Linked DNA regions of Homo sapiens: region 2 is linked to region 1. The links are contacts of gene promoters, found by promoter capture Hi-C in human tissues and cell types (Jung and others, 2019). All regions are on one chromosome and are shown on one strand. The core of a region is centred on a gene start or on the middle of the fragment in contact, and the rest is flanking DNA. Distances in the headings are between cores, read along the strand shown.

Region 1 (5,547 bases), core at 1,517-4,016:
AATGGATTTTTCCATTCTATTATTTAAAAAATCTTCCCAAAGTGAAGGTTTCATTTTCACCAAACCACTGTTACTTGATTTCAAGACTTTGCCATTCTGATCTCATGAAATCCTCCTTGCTTTGCCGCAAATGGAATCTCCTCAGATACCAAATTAATTCCACCACCAAATTGCTGATATCTGTTATCTCAGGCCCACCCTAATGTGGTCCTCAGTAAATTCCCGTGAAGTCATCTCAGTGATTAAACCAATCTCCTTACTTTCCCCCTAAGATGCAAACTCATTAGCACTCACCGCCAAAGCCATGGCTCAAGGTGTTGCCCCTACCTGGATTGCCTCCATTTGTCAATCAACCTTCTCTCTCCATAAGGTTTTCTCAAAGATTCTGCTTCTACAGATCTCTTCTTCGTGTCCCTTATTAGCACTTGATTATTATATTCTATCTTAAATCTTTTCTTTTTTGTTTTAGTTTCTTCACAGGAACCCTATCATATATTCTTCAGTTTAGGATAATGTAAGCTGCATAGTGTTTCAACAAATGCTTGTCGAATTGAAAGGGAAGCAGGATTTAAAAATTGACTTTAAGAAGCCTTCATGGCCAGGCGTGGTGGCTCATGGCTGTAATCCCAGCACTTTGGGAGGCCACGAGGTCAGGAGATCGAGACTGTCCTGGCAAACACGGTGAAACTCTTTCTCTACTAAAAATACAAAAAATTAGCCGGGCGTGGTGGTGGGCGCCTGTAGTCCCAGCTACTTGGGAGGCTGAGGCAGGAGAATGGCGTGAACCTGGGAGGCGGAGCTTGCAGTGAGCCTAGATCGTGCCTCTGCACTCCAGCCTGGGTGACAGAGTGAGATTTTGTCTCAAAGAAAAGCCTTCATGTCTAGTTGCTGATTGATGAATTCCATGCTGCATAAAAGATGCAAGTGAGAGAGAAAGAATAATGCAAATTTAGTTTAGTTGACAACTAAACTTTGGGAGGCCGAGGTGAGTGAATCACTTGAGGAGTTTGAGACCAGCCTGGCCAACACAGTGAAACCCTATATCTACCAAAAATATAAAAAATTAGCCAGGTGTAGGCCGAGTGCAGTGGCTCACACCTGTAATCTCAGCACTTTGGGAGGCCAAGGCATGCAGATCACGAGGTCAGGAGATCGAGACCATCCTGGCTAACATGGTGAAACCCCGTCTCTACTAAAAAATACAAAAAACTAGCCGGGTGTGGTGGCGGGCGCCTGTAGTCCCAGCTACTCGGGAGGCTGAGGCAGGAGAATGGAGCAAACCTGGGAGGCGGAGCTTGCAGTGAGCCGAGATCATGCCACTGCACTCCAGCCTGGGCCACAGGCGAGATTCCGTCTCAAAAAAAAAAAAAAAAAAAATTAGCCAGGTGTGGTGGCGCATGCCTGTAATCCCAGCTACTCGGGAGGCTGAGGTAGAAGAATCGTTTGAACCTGGGAGGCAGAGGTTACAGTCTGCTGAGATGGCACTACTACACTCCAGCCTGGACAACAGAGTGAGACTCTGCCTCAAAAAAAAAAAAAGAAAGAAAGAAAGGAAGGAAGGAAGGAAGGAAGGAAGGAAGGAAGGAAGGAAGGAAGGAAGGAGAAAGAAAGAAAGAAAGAAAAAACAATACATACACCTGTAGTAAAACTATGTAAAAATAGATAACACAAATATGTAAAATTCATGATTGTCATTTCCTCTGGAATGGGACAGTGGGGAAGGAAGGAACCAGGGGTGGGGGACATCAAAGAGGACTTCAACCTTCTGTAATGCTTTTTTATTATTAAAAAAATTGGAAGCAAATATTAAACAAAAATTAGCCAGGCGTGGTGGCGCGCACCTGTAATTCCAGCTACTCAGGGAGGCTGAGGCACAAGAATCTCTTGAACCTGGGAGGCAGAGGTTGCCATGAACCAAGATCACACCACTGCACTCCAGCCTGGGTAACAAAGTGAGACTCTGTCTCCAAAAAAAAGGGAAAGAAAAGAAAAGAAAAGAAAAAAGAGTAAGCAGTGCAAAGAGTGTGATCCTCATCCAAATGATATCATCCAAGTTACTTCATCCAAATGATATCATCCAAGTTACTACATGTCTAGGAAAAGTTAAGGGGCAGCTGAGGAAGTAGTTGTAACCTTTATTCCATTACAGGCTTAAAAATACTTAAGCAAAACCCCAGGAAGAGAGAAGAACCAGGAGTTATATTTGACACACCTAGATTTTTTTTTTTTTTTTTTTGAGACAGTTTCACTCTTGTTGCCCAGGCTGGAGTGCAATGACGTGATCTCGGCTCACCACAACCTCCGCCTCCCGGGTTCAAGTGATTCTCCTGCCTCAGCCTCCCAAGTAGCTGGGACTACACGCATGTGCCACCTCACATGGCTAATTTTGTATTTTTTTTTTTTTAGTAGAGACGGGGTTTCTCCATGTTGGTCAGGCTGGTCTCGAACTCCGACCTCTGGTGATCCACCTGCCTCGGCCTCCCAAAGTGCTGGGATTACAGGCATGAGCCACTGCACCCGGCCAACACATCTAGATTTTAAGCTTATTTAAGCAGGGCTATATCTTCTGTTTATTTTAGCATTCCTGTTGTCTATTATTTCCTACCCTCCTTCCCCCCTCACCCTTCTACCATGGCAGCATATAGAATGACCAGTTCTCTGCACATAGTAAGCATTCTTTACATGTTTGATCAATGATAATGTCACAATGGGTCTATTGTGACATCAACAGGACGGGAATATCATGGGAGCCACCAATTAGTAGCAGAGTATGCCACAACTTCTAGGATCAGGAAAGACCTCTCCTAGCTTCCTACTGGATATCTTTATTAGCATTTTTGTAGATTCTGTGAAAAAGAAGAAATAAAACGAAATCACCCACATTTTCAAAATGTTCTTCAAAATGAAAAATGAGATAGACAATGACCCTGAATCAGAAAAATGCATCAAGGATTCCACCATCATGAGAAGAGAGCCCCAAAATATCCTTAGTCCTTTGATGCTCCCTAACCTTGAGATCCCATTCTCAGTAAAGGATATCATCTCTAGGATTGAGCGCGCACAGCTCCATCGAGCCAGAGAGGTAGGTAGTGAATCTGAAGTTTACAGACTGCAATTTTCTTTTTAAACTTTCTGTGACCAAGTACATTTTTGTTTATTTTAGAAATCACTTTCATGATATTTGACTGTATTTAGGGTAGCTTTGACTTCAAATGACAATTTCACCTGACACCGACTGTGGATATAACAAGCTCCAATTTGACATTAATCTCTTTATATCAGGTTTAATAAAGCCATTTAAGAAATAAATCAAGCCGGGCATGGTGGCTCACGCCTGTAATCCCAGCACTTTGGGAGGCCGAGGCGGGCGGATCACTGAGGTCGGGAGTTCAAGACCAGCCTGACCAACATGGAGAAACCACCGTTTCTACTAAAAATACAAAAAGTTAGCTGGGCATGATTGCACTTGCCTGTAATCCCAGCTACTCAGGAGGCTGAGGTAGGAGAATTGCTTGAACCAGGGAGGTGGAGGTTGTGGTGAGCCAAGATTGCACCATTGCACTCCAGCCTGGGCAACAAAAGCGAAACTCTATCTCAAAAAAAAAAAAAGTTTTCATTTGTTCCCTATGGAGGTTTTATCAAACAGCTATTAGCCAGATAGAATTTAGATGGCTTTGAATTCTAGCTCCTTTTATTTTCCCTGTACACTTCAAGGAGAAATTAGGAGAAATTCAAGGAGAATAGAAAGAGTGTTTACATAATGTCAGCCGGGTGCGGTGGCTTATGCCTGTAATCCCAACACTTTGGGAAGCTGAGATGGGAGGATCCCTTGAGGCCAGGAGTTAGAGACCAGCCTGGTCAACATAGTGAGACCCCATCTATATTTTTAGAAAAATAAATAAATAAATAAATACATAAGAATCTAATAGACCCCCAAACAATTAAGGTTATACTGCATTTTATTCTCTCGCAGTACAACAAAATCAGGCCAGGCACAGCGATTCATGCCTGTAATCCCAATGCTTTGGGAGGCCAAGGCAGGAGGATCTCTTGAGCCCAGGAGTTCTAGACCAGCTTGGCCAACATAAGGAGACCTCCTGTCTACTAAAAATAAAAAAATTAGCCAGGCATGTTAGCTCAAACCTGTAGTCCCAGCTCCTTGGGAGGCCAGAGGATCCCCTGAACCCAGGAGACTGCAGTGAGCACCATGCTTGCACTACTGCACCCCACTCAGCATGGGTGACATAGCGAGACCCTGTCTCAAAAACAAACAAACAAACAAAAATCAGTCATGTTTGATGAAATTGATTAAGGGGGGGTTCTTTCCTATGTTTAAGGAAAGCTAAACTGGTCACAGTGGCTCATGCCTGTAATCCCAGCACTTTAGGAGGTCAAGGTGAGAGGCTCACTTGAGCCCAGGAGTTTGAGACCATCCCAGGCAACAAAGCAAGACCCTGTCTCTAGAAAAAATTTAAAAATTAGCCAGGAAGTGGTGGTATGCACTTGCAGTCCCAGCTACTCGGGAAGGTCCCTTGAGACCAGGAATTTGAGGTTACAGTGAGCTATAGATTGTGCCACTACATTCCAGTCTGGTGACAGAGGGACTCTATCTCTAAAAAAAAAAAAAAAAAAAAAAAAAAAAGAGTGTTAGCCAGGCACAGTGGCTCACTCCTGTAATCCCAGCACTTTGGAGGCCAAGACAGGAGGATCGCTTGAGTCCTGGAGTTCAAGACCAGTCTGGGCAACATAGTAAGACCTCTGTCTCTCTCTCTCTATAGGTAGATAGGTAGATAGATAGATAGATAAATAGATTTTTTTTTTTGAGGCAGACTATCATGCTATTGTTCAGGCTGAGTGCAGTGGCGCGATCTTGGCTCACTGCAACCTCCATCTCCTGGGTTCAAGTGATTCTCCTGCCTCAGCTTCCCAAGTAGCTGGGACTACAGGCACCGGCCACCAAGCCTGGCTAATTGTTTTTGTATTTTTAGTAGGGACAGGGTTTCACCATGTTAGCCAGTATGGTCTTGATCTCCTGACCTTGTGACCCACCCCCACTCCAAAGTGCTGAGATTACAGGCGTGAGCCACTGCGTCCAGCCCATTTTATATATTCTTTTAAAAAACAAAAACAAAAACAAAAAAACAGAGTGCTTGGCCAGGTGTGGTAAGTAGCTCATGCCTGTAATCCTAGCATCTTGGGAGGCAGAGGCAGGTGGATCACTTGAGCTCAGGATTTCAAGACCAACTGGCCAATATGGTGAAACCCGGTCTCTACTAAAAATACAAAAAATTAGCCGGGTGTGGTGGCTCCTGCCTGGAGTCCCAGCTACTCAGGAGGCTGAGGCAAGAGAATCACTTGAGCCCGAAAGGCAGAGGTTGCAGTGAGCCGAGATGGTGCCAATGCACTCCAGCCTGGGTGACAGAGCAAGACTCTGCCTCACAGAAAAAAAGAGTGCTAAATATCGATAAATTCCCACTCCTCACACAGACTTTCTCCTGTTCCAACTTCTGGCAACTAGCAACAATAACACAGTGTTTGCTTTTAACA
Region 2 (6,226 bases), core at 3,666-6,165, 250 kb after region 1:
TCAGCTCACTACAACCTCTGCCTTCTGGGTTCAAGCAATTCTCCTGCCTCAGCCTCCCGAGTAGCTGGGATTACAGGCGGCCGCCACCACGCCTGGCTAATATTTATATTTTTAGTAGAGATGGGGTTTTACTGTGTTGGCCAGGCTGGTCTCAAACTCCTGACCTCAGGTGATCCGCCCGCCTCCGCCTCCCAAAGTGCTGGGATTACAGGCATGAGCCACTGCGTCTGGCCTCATTTATTTTTGAGAAAGTTTTTGCTAAATACTCAGAGCTGACTAACGTTAGTCTGTCAGTCCTTTCAGGTAAAAGTGGTATTCTATGGAAAAAGCGACTTAGTTTATTCAGCTTGCAGTAGTCATACAAATGGTTTTCCTTGGGAGCCATATACTTTGGTATGCATCAGAAGTGCTTTTTGGGTACATCCATTTTATCACAGAATAAGTGGAGACTGGGTTTCACCATGTTGGCCAGGGTGGTCTCGAACTCCTGACCTCAAGTGATCCGCTTGCCTCAGCCTCCTAAAGTGCTGGGATTACAGGCATAAGCCACTGTGCCCAATCACAGAATACTTTTAAAAAATATATTCAAGGGTCAAGATTTAATAAAAGTAATAATTTGTAGTGCTTCATCAAGGACATTCTTAAGCAAAACTGGCATGTTTTAAAAATTGAGAAGACCTAGCTCTACAGTATAGTAACTACTAGTATGGTTTGGTGTCACTACCTTGATTTGGTCTAAAGTACCATAATGTTTTACCTACCATTGATTTGCACAATCACTGCAAATGTCAACACAGTGAAAAAGGCAAATAATAATATTGTTATGAAAATAGTTTAGTTTGTAGAGCCCCTGAGAGTGCCTCAGGAACCCTCAGGGATCTGCAGTCCATACCTTGAGACCCTCTACCATAACTGAATGAGGTTACTGAGGGTGAGCGTGTAGAGTACGAAAAGAACCTCTAAGTGAACCCTGAGGAAACACCATGTTTCAGGAAAAGGCAGAGGAAAAATAAACTGCAAAGGAGATAGAGGAATGACAGCCATACGTTATTTGATAATATTAGTAGTTGGTATAGGCCGCGCACGGCGACTCACGCCTGTAATCCCAACACTTTGGGAGGCCGAGGTGGGTGAATCCACTAGAGGCCAGGAGTTCGGGACCAGCCTGGCCAGCATGGTGAAACCCGTGTCTACTAAAAATACAAAAGTTAGCCAGGTGTGGTGGTGGGCACTTGTAATCCCAGCTACTCGGGAGGCTGAGGCAGAATCGAACCTGGGAGGTGGAGGTTGCAGTGAGCCAAGATTGTGCCATTGCACTCCAGCCCAGGTGACAGAGGGAGACTCCATCTCAAAGTGGGTGTTTAATAAGTGTTTACTTTGTCCTAGGCATTGTTCTAAGTGCTAAGCTTGAATCCTCTTTAGTAAGTTTATGAGGTAGGTAGGCATTACTGTTATCCTCATTTTACAGATGAGAGAACTGAAGCACAGAGGAACTTGTCCAAGGTGACTCAACTAGCAGTGCTTACCAGGCAGTCTAGTTCCACTGCCAAAGAGGTAGAGGGAGAAGACTAGGAAGAGTGGCAGTAAGGAAGAGAAAAGGGCATTTCAAGAAGGAGATTAGTCATTAATGTATTTGGTTGGTGCAAAAGTAATTGTGGTTTTTGCCATTAAAAGTAATGGGAATTACTTTTGCACCAACCTAATAAAATGCTGCTGAAAGGTCAAGTAAGATAAAGGACTGAAAAGCATCCATTTGTTTTCACAATATGGAGATCATTGACAACTTTGGCAAGAACAGCTTCAGTGGAGTGTAGGGACAGAAGCCAGAGGGGAGAGAAAGGAGAGTTGAGGAATGTGTGGGAGTTTAGTTGTGAGTTTGGGGAAGGCCAGAGGGTGCTAGGGACCGGGAGGGCTGTTTTAAGATGTGAAAAACTTGAGCATGTTTAAGATCTGATGAGAAGAACAAAGTTGAGAGTGAGGCTGAAGATAATAGAAGGAAGGAGGGATAAGTAGAATGAAATTTCTGATCAGTAAAGAGTGGGTCTAAAGCACAGGGAGATTGGTTTTAGATGTGATTAGTTTAGATTGAGTGATTCTGATGCCAAAGTTGAGGACATTCCATTTTCTTCTTAGCCTAAATGCTTGAGGGTTTGGCTATTTCTACTTCTTTCCTCCTATATCTTTAACTGCTTTAACTCACTGCTGTGTTTTAGAGTCTTTATTTTACTGGAATTTCTTTGGTGAAGGTTACTACAGATCTCCAAAAATTGCCAAATGTAGTAGATACTGAAGTCCTTGTCTTGGTCTTTCCCTTATTTGATACAACTCCACCTCTGACCTTCCTGTCCCCTAAATTCACCTTTTATGCTGATGTTGTCCAGCGTTCTGACCTCAGTTCTCTTTTAAGTTTATATTCCTTTCATATGTAATCACAGCCACCCCCACAAATTTAGCTATCACTTACATTCTCATTCATTTGTATTCGTATATTCTGTTCTTTCTCTCTATATATATATCATACCCAAGCCCCTTTTCCAAGTGTATTTGCATGCTAGACAGTTCCATTTCAGTGTCCCATGGGTACTTCAGATTCAGCATACACAAAACTCAACTCATCTTTCACTCCCAAACTTTTTTTTATTTCATTATTTTATGTTTTGGAGATGGCGTCTCACTCTGTCACCCAGGCTGGAGTGTAGTGGCACAATCAGGGCTCACTGCAGCCTCCACCTCCTGGGCTCAAGCAGTCCTCCTGCCTCAGCCTCCGCAGTAGCTGGGACCATGGGCACATGCCACCACATCCAGCTAATTTTTAAAATTTTTTGTAGAGACGGGGTCTCACCATGTTGCCCAGACTGGTCTTAAACTCCTGTTCTTTTTATATGTCTACTTTGGCACTTTATATTTTTCCAGAAATTGATCTAAGCTGGTACTTCTCAATCTGGAAATATTGCTGCACACATAAAAAATAACATTTGTGGCTGAGTATGCTGGCTCACGCCTGTAATCCCAGCACTTTGGGAGGCGAGGCAGGCAGATCACTTGAGGTCAGGAGCTCAAGACCAGCCTGGCCAATGTGGTGAAACCCCGTCTCTACTAAAAATACAAAAATTAGCTGGGCATGGTGGTGCACGCCTGTAGTCCCAGCTACTACTTGGGAGGCTGAGGCACAAGAATTACTTGAACCTGGGAGGCGGAGGTTGCAGTGAGCCCAGATCACGCCACCACACTTCACTTCAGCCTAGGCATCAGAGCGAGACTCTGTCTCTAAATAAATACATAAATAACATTTGCATTATACAGTAAGGTATATGAGGCCAGAGACTACAGACTAAAGGTTTCTGGCTACCCGAAGGCCCCATGGATCACCCTGAGAGCTAAAATCAATATCTCAGCATAAGTATAGCCCATTTGTGTTACTTGCCACAATAGTTGAGAAGCTTAATCTAGACTTTGGTTTTATTTGTGTATAATTCATATTCATCAGTGGTGTAATGAATCACAAAAGTAGCATTGTGAATATACATCCTGTCTTTGATAGGAAAAAGCGAAAGCACTAGGTAATTTCATCCTAATTAACCCAGGCTTAGGTCAACTGCTGCTATGTATCTGGAGAGCAGGAAAAGGGCAGAGTGAAATGATCTCTACAAAGCAGGACAAATCTAATACTGTCAGGATGGGTCACTAGACTCGTGTTCCTGGAGTTACAGGTGGAAAGTAGTAGCTTCTTTTTATAGACCACTAAATGCCTACTTACTAAAATCTGCCAGGAAAGGAAAAATCTTGTCTGACAAATTATTTTAAAATGTGGATTGATCCTGGAGAAGACAGAAAGCCACACTAAAAGTATAATTTGTCAGTATCATCTAGCACAGCAGTTTTCAAACTATGATCTCAGGACTCCTTTACAATCTTAAAAAATTTTCAAGGATCCCAAAGAGTTTTTGTTTATGTGGATAGTACCTATCAATGTCTACTGTTTTAGAAAAAAAATGGGGAAAATGTACATGTTTTCTACATGTATTTATACATGTATAAAATGTCTACACGCACACACACACACACACACACACATATATATATATATATATATTTTTTTTTTTTTTTTTTTTTTTTGAGATGGAGTCTCGCTCCGTCACCCCAACTGGAGTGCAGTAGCGCAATCTTGGCTCACTGCAACCTTCGCTTCCCGGGTTCAAGCAATTCTCCTGCCTTAGCCACCTGAGTAGTTGGGAATACAGGTGTGCACGACCATGCCCGGCTAATTTTTTGTTGTTGTATTTTTAGTAGAAGATGGCATTTCGCCATGTTGGCCAGGCTGGTTTCAAACTCCTGACCTCAAGTGATCAGCCTGCCTCAACCTCCCAAAGTGCCGGTATTACAAGTCTGAGTCACCACGCCCGGCCTATTTATTTATTTATTATTGAGACAGAGTCTGCTTTGTCGCCCAGACTGGAGTGCAGTGGTGAGATCTCAGCTCACTGCAACCTCTGTCTCCCGAGTTCAAGAGATCCTCTCACCTCAGCCTCCTGAGCAGCTGGGACTACAGGTATGTGCCGCCATGCCTGGCTAATTTTTGTATTTTTTGGTAGAGATGGGGTTTCACCATGTTGGCCAGCCTGGTCTTGAACTCCTGAGCTCAAGCAGTCTGCCCACCTCAGACTCCCGAAGTGCTGGGATTACAGGCATGAGCCACCGCATACAGCCTATTTATTTTTGAGACAGGATCTGGCTCTATCACACAGGCTGAAGTGCAGTGGCGCAATCACAGCCCACTGCAGCCTCGACCTCCCAGGCTCAAGTGATCCTCCCACCTCAACCTCCCAAGTTGCTGGGACCACAGGCATGAGCTACCACACCTGTCTAACTTTTGTGTTTTGGGGAGAGACAGGGTTTCACCACGTTTCCCAGGCTGGTCTCAAACTCCTGGGCTCAAGTGATCCACCTGTCTCAGTCTCCCAAAGTGCTAGGATAACAGGCATTAGCCACCGTGCCCAGCCCATATTTATTCATTTAAAAATAGCAATGGCCTGGGAAACATGGTGAAACCCTGTCTCTACAAAAAAAAAAATTTTTTAATTAGCTGGGCATGGCCAACACCTGTAGTCCCAGCTACTTGAGAGGCTGAGGTGGGAGGATCACTTGAGCTTAGGAAGTCAAGGCTGCAGTGAGCAGTGATCACACCACTGCACTCCAGCCTGGGTGGCAGAGTGAGACCCTGTCTCAATATAAATAAATAACAATGAACTCATTACGTTTTATGAAAAATAACTATTTTCCAAAACAAAAAACTGTGAGAAGAGTAGCATTTTAACATTTTTGAAAATATCTGGCAGCTGTAGTCTCATGTCAGCGTCTGCATTCAGTCTGTTGTTATATGTCATGTAACTTATGGAAAGTTCCACTGTACTCTCATGAGAGAGAATAGATTTTTATGAAATTATAGAATTATTCTGAAGATAGTTTTGACCTTGTAGACCTACTGAAAGGGTCTCTGGATCCCCCAGGGGTCTCTAAACCACACTTTGAGAAATGCTGATGTAGCAGAAATGATGAATGCCAGGCTCTGGAAATTGACCACCCTAGGTACCTATTTTTTTTTTTTTTTTTTTTGGAGATGGAGTCTCGCTCTGTTACCCAGGCCAGAGAGAGTGCAATGGCGTGATCTCAGCTCATTGTAATTTCCGCCTCCTGGGTAAAAGCAATTCTCCTGCTTCAGCCTCCTGAGTAGCTGGGGTTACAGGCACACACCACCACGCCTGTCTAACTTTTTGTATTTTTAGTAGAGATGGGGTTTCACCATGTTGGATAGGCTGGTCTCGAACTCCTGACCTCGTGATCCGCCCGCCTCAGCCTCCCAAAGTGCTGGGATTACAGGCATGAGCCACCGCGCCTGGCCTAGATACCTGTTTTATAAGTTATACCAAATACCAACCTTTTGTATGATGTAGAATTAATACTTTCTCAAAAGCTATAATTTCAAATAATTTCACTTTCTTCAGTAAGGTAATTCATTAACTGTGTATAACTAAATCTATATATTTAATTTTTATCACAAATTAGAAAAGATTATTTTCCAATCACATCTGGAAAATATAATAAAGCTTCATTCTGTAGCACAAAATAAACAATCAACAAGTATTTGTCAAATGTTCTTTTTTTTTTTTTTTTTTTGAGACGGAGTCTCACTTTGTCGCCCAGGCTGGAGTGCAGTGGCGCGATCTCG

What was found. The method cuts DNA at HindIII sites, captures the fragments that hold promoters and counts their contacts. A contact is called where the count stands out against the background at its distance.
Region 2: a contact is called between a fragment that was not itself captured here and the fragment with the promoter of FAM186A in region 1, in 2 of the 25 tissues and cell types used here (IMR-90 fibroblasts and aorta).

What each region holds. Positions count from the first base shown.
Region 1 is chr12:50,393,828-50,399,374 of GRCh38, reverse strand. FAM186A (family with sequence similarity 186 member A) reads left to right here and starts at 2,766. Exons shown (of 8, transcript NM_001145475.3): 1 at 2,766-3,082. The coding sequence starts at 2,891. The HindIII fragment of the contact is 8,551 bases long and covers 1-5,547 here.
Region 2 is chr12:50,146,795-50,153,020 of GRCh38, reverse strand. All of the region lies in intron 1 of CERS5 (ceramide synthase 5), which reads left to right. The region is part of intron 1 of LOC124902931 (a long non-coding RNA gene); the gene reads right to left. Among named protein-coding and RNA genes, the nearest start is that of CERS5, 17 kb to the left of the region's middle. The HindIII fragment of the contact is 4,983 bases long and covers 2,424-6,226 here.